Linked DNA regions of Homo sapiens: regions 2 and 3 are each linked to region 1. Evidence: promoter capture Hi-C in human tissues and cell types (Jung and others, 2019). All regions are on one chromosome and are shown on one strand. The core of a region is centred on a gene start or on the middle of the fragment in contact, and the rest is flanking DNA. Distances in the headings are between cores, read along the strand shown.

Region 1 (2,700 bases), core at 9-2,508:
GGAGTGGACCCTCCAGGCTTCTTGCCTCTCTCACGGAGCCTCACGAATCCCAGTGGTTTAGAATTTTCTTTGGCAAAAGAAAAGGTCAAAGAGGCCGGAGTTGACAGAAAGCATGGGCGGACTTCTCAGATCTTGTAGGTGGTTCTTAAAAGAATTCAGCAGGCTTGAGGTGTGCTCTCAAAGGGCAACTGGAACGTCAAGGACTTGGACACCAGGCACAGATGGTTCATTTCCCATGGACAGGAAGAGGGCACGGAGTGCTCCCTCTTCCCTCCACCTTCTCCAGCCTAGTCCCCCTCAGCCTGTGCCACTCCTGAATCATCTTTTATAGCACCACGTCCAGCCCGCACAGGGGCAGGACAGCCCAGGGAACAAGGCAGTCCTGTGGCGCTCTCCTTGCAGAAATGACCGGAGTCTCCCAATCCAGCCAGCCCGTGGACCTCTCTTCATGCCCACGGGGGAGTGCACACGCCTGTAGCATTCAACAGTCACTCTCCCATTGATAACGGTGGCTCTCGAAAATCCAATACCACAAAGATACTTTATTGCACAAACTTTGCTTGGTTAACCTGGCCCTCAAAGCTGGGGAATAACCTCACTTGAGGCTACAGGAATGAGCACGCAGATTTTTCTTTTTTTTTTTTTTTTGGTATCTTTCAAAGACCTGCCTCCCCCTCCCCCAGGCCCTTGACCAGAAACTTGGCTTGTTTAGAAGCCTGAGCAATGGCACCCCCGTCCGTGCTCCAATACATTCCCAGAAAAGGGGTTATGCTCCCCTGTGGACAGGATACCATCTCCAGAAAACATGTTTCCTCACGCATTTTTTTTTTTTTTTTTTACCAAGAATACAAAAACTTTCCACCTTCTTCCCTCCCCGCAGGCCCCCTTTCGTTCAGGTGAGAAGGAAAAGGGAGAAGAAAGGAGGAAGCGCCCCCAGGCCGGCGGCCCCCACCCGGCTAAGGTCGCCAGCATCCCGCATCCCGTGCGACCTGCGTCCCAGAAACCCAGCGGGGAAATTCTTCCCGGTGCGCTCTTGCGCCCGCTTGGTTCCATTTCCTACTCCGCCTGCTCACCCGGCAGCCCTCACCCCTTCCCGGAGGCTCTCCGAGGGGCCCGGGTAGCCCTTCTCGCCACGGGTCTCGGCCCCTCCAGCCCGCTCCCTCCCGGCGGCGGCGCGGGGCGCGGGGCCCTACCTGGAGCGAGCACGGCGCCGCTGCTGCCCGGTGGCGCTGGGACTGCGCGGGGACTGCGCGGGGACTGCGCGGGGACTGGCGGGGCTGGCGGGGCTGGCGGGGCTGGCGGGGCTGGCGGGCCCGGCGCACTGCGGGTGCGCCTAGAAGGCGGTGCCCGCCAGGGGGCGCTCGCCAGCCTCCCCGCCAGCCCGGCCTCCCGGGACCCGGCACCTCTAGCCAGGGACGCGCGCTCGGTCCCCCGCCGTGCGCCCCCGGTCCCGCGCCCAGGCTCCCGCCCCTGGCCTCCTTACCAGCCACTTGTCGCCCAGCTGCGAACTGGAGCGGGAGGCGGCGGCCGGAGGGCCCAGGACAGCCCCGGGAGGGCGGCGAGGCGGAGCAGGAGCGCCCCGGCTCCGGCCACATTCTCAGAGTCAGGAAAAGGGGCGAGAGGCCACATGTCTCCCTCTCGCCCAACTGAAAACGAAACGGCGCTCCAGCAGATTGGGTGGAAAGAGCTGGGTCTCTTTTCTCTGTTTTTCACGCTAGAAAGGGCTTGTAAACATTGTTCCTTTTAAAATGACCTACCCCAGGCATTTGTTTGGGCACACTTCTGTCCTGGGGTCATCGTTCCTAGGTGGCTTCGGACCTGGGACTTTTCCTGTATCTGCACATTGTCGTTTTATACACAATTGCCAAGGTGGGACTGCTTTCAACTTTACTGTGCTTGAAGCTGCAAAGGTAATGTTGCCGCCGTGCGTGTCATTTTAGGACTTTTTATGCCTTGCGGGTAATACTAATGATGGTCACAGGGAGGATAAACGGGGTGGTTTCTTTTTCTATACTCCATGTAACTAATTTCTCATTCAGGTTAGAAAATTATATGTCTGGTTACTAATATTCTTACTGAATGGTTTCCTTGCAATGATGACACCAAATAATTAAAACGTACTTGATTAAGACTTTTGTTGCTGTAGTGTACTAAGATCAGATTAATCTGAGAAGTAAAATAGTAATTTTTTGTCCTTTTTTCTTTTCTTGTTTTGAGAGAGACATTAAAAACGATTAAAACAAAACAAAACAGGCCAGGTGCGGTGGCTCATGCCTGTAATGCCAGCACTTTGGGAGGCTGAGGCGGGTGGATCGCTTGAGGCTGGGAGTTTGAGACCAGCCTGGCCAACATGGCAAAATCGTGTCTCTCCTAAAAATACAAAAATTAGCTGGGTGTTGTGGCACGTGCCAGTAATCCCAGCTACTCAGAAGGCTGAGGCAGGAGAATCGTTTGAACCTGGGAGGAGGAGGTTGCAGTGAGCTGAGATCTCACCACTGCACTGCAGTCTGGGTGACAGCAAAACTCTGCCTCAAAAAAAAAAAAGGTTTAACAAAAGCCAAAAGTTGAATTAGCAGCCTTCTGATCATGGGAATGTAGGATGTCAACTAAAAAGAACCTCAGAGGTTGGGAAGGCAGATGAAAAACTGAGGCCCCGAAGTGTTTCAAGACTTGATTAAATCACTCAGGTCTGCACTAGGA
Region 2 (2,700 bases), core at 156-2,655, 810 kb after region 1:
ATACACTTTGTGGTTTTGTACAAAGTTAACTCTACTATAATAGGCTCCTTTTGTCTCTGTTGGACAACAGAATTCTAGTACTGGAACTTCTTACAAGAGTTGTCTTGGACCAGTGAAAAGAACAGAGAGCTTGCAGAATAAGGGAATAACAAGCTATGTGGCTGTGTGACATAAACAAATTACTTAACCTCTCTACTCCTTGAATTTCTCATCAGTTCAATCAGAAAGCTTGATGAGATGCAATCACCCCTTTCAAATCTAAAATTTTATCAATCCAGGTGTTATTATGATTCATTGTACATTTTCTGCATTCAGATTATCCCTTTATGTTTGAAGCAAATTTAATACAATAAGCATCCTCCCCTCTCAACCCTATCTTTCCTTCTCCTTTCACTTGAGGTATAGTCAAAGAATAGAGTAATGCTAGCACAGGCTAAGCAAAGCCTTGTTAGGAAGAACACGAGTGAGAAAGAACATGCATTAGATATTACTCTTCAACTAGCCAAACATAACTGGGGGCTCATTATCTATGTTGAATGCATCTAGACCAGCACTGCCTGATCTATATCTGCTTGGTCCAGTACAGTAACCACTAGCCACACGTTGGCTACAGTGCACTGGAAGCGTATCTAGTACTGTTGAGGACCTGAATTTTAATTTTAATGACCTTGAATTGAACTAGGCACATGTGGGTAGAAGGTGGGCAGCCCAGCAAGCCACTGCACTGGAGAGCCGTATTTGAGGGCTTGGAACATGTCCTAAACAACCATCAATTCTTGGCTGTCTTAAAAGTTTTAATGTAATAATGTCAAGCTAGTTAAAACTCATGAATTTTTAAATCTAAGAAACTTCAAAAGGAGACTTAACAGTTTCCCCCTAATATTCCACAAATGATTCACGGCAAACTTCCTAACACAGCATAGGTTTTTATTAAATCAGCTGCATTTTTATATCAATGGAAAATGTCAAAGGAGAAACATCTTAGAAACTATTACGTGTGTCATACAAAGACTATTTGCTTTTTTTCATTCATTTATAAATTCAGGAAAATCATTCCGCCTCAAAAATGTAGTCATGTACCAAGTTTTTCTATAAAGAAAAAAAAGTCCATGAATATGGCTATTAATAAATCAGTTAAATGTCAGTGGCTTATAGACACTTATTAAAAGGGGAAAAGTTTGCTCAAGTCTTATGACTCCTCATTACCCATTTGCCTCTAACTAGACACTACAGAACAGTAATCTGAGACTGTAAAATTTAAATGCATCAAATCAATCATTTTAAATAGAACTCAAGGCCTGGTGCGTTGGCTCATGCCGGTAATCCCAGCACTTTGGGAAGCTGAAGCAGAAGGATCACCTGAGGTCAGGAGTTCGAGACTAGCCTGACCAACATGGTGAAACCCCATCTCCACTAAAAATACAAAAATTAGCAGGGCTTGGTGGCACGTGTCTGTCATCCCAGCTACTTGAGAGGCTGAGGCAGGAGAATCACTTGAACCTGAGAGGCTAAGGTTGCAGTGAGCTGAGATCGCACCATTGCACTCCAGCCTGGGCAACAGAGTGAGACTCCGACTCACTCAGTCAATCAATCAATCAATCAATAAAACTGAAGAGTAATAATACAAAGACCAACAAGAAAGCCACTGAAAGAGTAGCACAGTGGCTGGGCGTGGTGGCTCACGCCTGTAATCCCAGCACTTTGGAAGCCCAAGGCGGGTGGATCACGAGGTCAGGAGTTTGAGACCAGCCTGACCAACATGGTGAAACCCTGTCTCTATTAAGAATAGAAAAATTAGCCGGGCATGGTGGCACGTGCGTATAATCCCAGCTACTCGGGAGGCTGAGGCAGGAGAATCGCTTGAACCCAGGAGGTGGAGGTTGTGGTGAGCCAAGATAGCGCTACTGCACTCCAGCCTGGGCAACAGAGCGAGACTCTGTCTCAAAAAAAAAAAAAAAAACAGTAGCAGAGTGAAAGCTCACATGACTCTGGAGGGCAATGGCCGTGCCACTGGAAGACTTCCCCCTACGTCCACCCAGGTGACTGCAAAATTGATTCACTTTGCAAACGATGTGTCCCACTTTGACTTTTTCAACAACATTTAGTTTTTTCCTTCCTATAAGAGATAGACATGCTCTTGGTAGAAATCTTGAAAAGTAAAATTATAAAGAAAGAAATTAAAATCACTTGTAATTCTAATACTCAGTGATAATCAATTTTATGTTTCTATAGTATCTCCTCCTGATAGTTTCTCTGTGGATTTTGTTGTTGTTGTTTAGTTCACAGAGAATTCGGAATTCCAATCCATTTTTTCATTTTGCATTACACAGAAGGAATTTCTCGCGTCATTAAGATTCTCTGAAAACATGACTTGAAATGGTTGGATAATTTTTATTATAAAATGAATAAGGTCATGTATTTACCATGCCTCTGCTGCCGCCCATTAAAGCTGTTTATATTATTTTTTCACCATGGTAAGTAGCACTCTAGTCACGACTCTCAGTCAGAAATCCTACATCTCTGATGTCTCCTTAATGTAGAATCCCAGAAGTTAAATTATAGGGTCAAAAATATGGGGACACAGTTGAGGCTCATGACCCCCCTGAAAACATGCTCTCAAGTCCGCTAAGCTGGTTTACTAGCAGGGCAGGAGAAAACATCTAAACCCTTTATACCTTTTCTTTATTTGACATTCAAAAA
Region 3 (2,700 bases), core at 138-2,637, 870 kb after region 1:
TACCAGTTCACTTTCTGTGGCAGAGAAAGCTGCCAGAGTTTCCTGGCTTTGTCCCTTAGTGGCCTCTCTACCGGGTGGGGCTGTGGACAGACTCAGCAGAGCATTTATTGCGGCGGCTTTGCAGCAGCCGTTTCTAAGGAGATGGTGCCTGAGCCCCATGCAGAACGCCATCCCTTCCTTTCCCCCCGATTTGTTTCTGCCTAATTGAACTCCCGCTGGCTGTGTTCCAGCACAGTTCTGTTTCACCTACTGATAAATGGTCGTTCACTTTCCAGTTTCAGAACTCAGCTAACCCCTGGAATGAACCACGGTTCATCTTCACGGTGTCCTCAGTGCAGAGCGCCGTGCATCAGACGATCGATGCGTATTCGCAGCAAATTGGCCATTCAGCAGTGCCGTGCAGGAACCTCGGAGGCACAGATACGGAACAGCTTTTCTGACAATGTCATGGCCTTCCCCAGACTCACTGGGGAACCTTATTTGAAGTTTTAAGAAAAAGAACTTGGACTTTCTTACAGCTTCTTGCTAAAGTTCAGGAGTTCTAAATGATTACCCCAGAGAACCCATCAGATAACTATGTCTCCAACTAAATGAATAAGATGAAATTTGACACAAAATAAATACAGGCACCTATCTGTCCATGGGTCATTTGGGGAAAACCAGAAACATGTATTTAATGCATGTCTCTGAACTTACATACTTCCAGTCATCAAAGTAACTAAAGCTTATAGAACAAGCAATTCCACGGATGATCTAAGCCCATCCTGCGCTGGACACCTCTGAGAAAGTGAATTAGCATTAGGATTATTGCAGAGAGATAAGAATCTAAGTAAGTCTAAAATGTGGAACATGCTGCTTATATTTAATTTTGTTTTGTATTTTCCTTTCTTCTCTTCTAATTAGGTGATTTTAGAGGAATAAACACCCTTAGCCGTCAGCCAACATTTTACAAATGAAGGCCAGCAAGGGAAAGGAGCTCACTGAAGGCCCATGCTCATTAATGAGGAAGCAAAAACAACAGCACACAGCCTCTGTTCCCAGGGCCACGCTCCTCGATTTCTAAGCGCTGTTCCAGTTCACACAGGACAAGACATCCTTTTTTCTTCTAGAACAACAGCTCAGCCCCACCTGAAAGAAAAAGTTCATTGATACTTTTTCAAAGGCTTCACAACTCAGCTTTTTTGGAGACTTCAGCAAAATAAGTCATTATCTGGCCAACTTTAAGAATGAGGTTTGCTAAATGTATCAGCATTCTGAGGTTATCAGAAGACTCTGCACACTTGCATATCTCACAAATACCGTCAATAAATACATAGTTTCATTTCCTCATTGATTCACACATTGCTTTTCCTATGTGAAATGCTTCATAACAGGCTCAATATGAATATTCAAAAAGAATGTGATGTGGTCTGCCATGAATATAAGTCAGTAAGTAATAAACATTGCTAAATGTCCTATTCCGTAACGTAGTGATAACCTACTCCCTCTATTTAGGAAAATCACATGGTCCTTGACTTCTTTTTGGAGGACAGAGTCTCACTCTCTCATCCAGGCTGGAGTGCAGTGGCACAATCCCAGTTCACTGTAGCCTCAACCTCCTGGGCTCAAGTGATCCTCCCATCTCAGCCTCTTGAGTAAATGTGACCACACGTACACACCATCACGCTCGGCATTTTTTTTTTTTTTTGTCTTGTAGAGACAGGGTCTTACCATGTTGTCCAGGCTGGTCTCAAACTCCTGGGCTCAAGTGATCCACCCACCTCAGCCTCCCAAAGTGCTAAGATTACAGGCATGAGCCATTGCACCTGAACAGTCCTTGATTTTTAAAAAATTCAAATAATAATACAGTTTAAAATGAAAAGCAAACCCCTTTTGTCTCAGAGTCCTAGTTCCACTCCTCAGCAGTTCCTGGTGTACCTTCCAGATACTGTCCCTGCGGACACACAATACAAATGGGGACACAGAAATCACATTATTCTATGTCTTGATTTGTATGCCTGGTGATACACCTCGACAATCTCTCTGTATCAGCACACACAGCTCTATTCGTTTCCTTCCAGTTCTGGAGCACTCCACTGGAATGACGTGCTATACATTTTGAACCAGCCTCGATTATGGATATTCGAGTTATTTTCAGTTACTGTTCTTGCTGTGGCAAACAATGCAGCAATGGCTTTGCTTTTACATACGTCTTTATGCGCATTTTCAGCATATCTGCAGAATAAATTCCTAAAACTGAAATTGCTGGATCAAAGGGCGTATTCATTTTCTAATTTCGTTAGATATCACCAAATAACACTCTATCTTAACACGAAACAAACACTTGCAAGGATGCTGTGCTAATTTACACTCTCATCTACCGTGCACTTGAGTGTTGGTTTCTCATGCCCTTGCTAGCACCTAACTTTGTCAAGGTGATTGGTAAAAAAACCGTGTCTCAGTTCCATTTGTAGTTCTTAATTGTCAGCATGTTAGAGCATCTTTTCATCTTGGAACTCTGTATATAATGATTTTTATGTTACCTACCTGCCTTTGTCCATTTGTTTTTTATTATTTATAAAAATCTCTTAATAGGTTTTATAAGATAATCTTTATCTTTTGCATTGCAAATTTTTTTCTCAGTTTGTCATATGGCTTTATTATGTTTTACCATATTCAAGTTTAATATATATATATTTTATTCATTTATTTATTTATTTA

The links. Contacts are between HindIII fragments. The study calls those that stand out against the background at their distance.
Region 2: a contact is called between a fragment that was not itself captured here and the fragment with the promoter of PRKCQ in region 1, in 1 of the 25 tissues and cell types used here (H1 embryonic stem cells).
Region 3: a fragment that was not itself captured here is called in contact with the fragment with the promoter of PRKCQ in region 1 in 1 of the 25 tissues and cell types used here (hippocampus).

Annotation. Positions count from the first base shown.
Region 1 is chr10:6,579,018-6,581,717 of GRCh38, forward strand. PRKCQ (protein kinase C theta) reads right to left here and starts at 1,259. Exons shown (of 18, transcript NM_006257.5): 1 at 1,194-1,259. It overlaps PRKCQ-AS1 (PRKCQ antisense RNA 1), which reads left to right and starts at 1,408. Exons shown (of 2, transcript NR_036503.1): 1 at 1,408-1,910. RefSeq lists silencers at 1,261-1,510, 1,521-1,670. The HindIII fragment of the contact is 11,498 bases long and covers 1-2,700 here.
Region 2 is chr10:7,389,523-7,392,222 of GRCh38, forward strand. All of the region lies in intron 1 of SFMBT2 (Scm like with four mbt domains 2), which reads right to left. Among named protein-coding and RNA genes, the nearest start is that of SFMBT2, 20 kb to the right of the region's middle. The HindIII fragment of the contact is 5,344 bases long and covers 1-2,700 here.
Region 3 is chr10:7,444,665-7,447,364 of GRCh38, forward strand. LINC02642 (long intergenic non-protein coding RNA 2642) reads right to left here. Exons shown (of 4, transcript NR_184109.1): 4 at 1-1,128. Among named protein-coding and RNA genes, the nearest start is that of LINC02642, 27 kb to the right of the region's middle. RefSeq lists a silencer at 938-1,144 and enhancers at 1,017-1,116, 2,201-2,700. The HindIII fragment of the contact is 5,048 bases long and covers 1-2,700 here.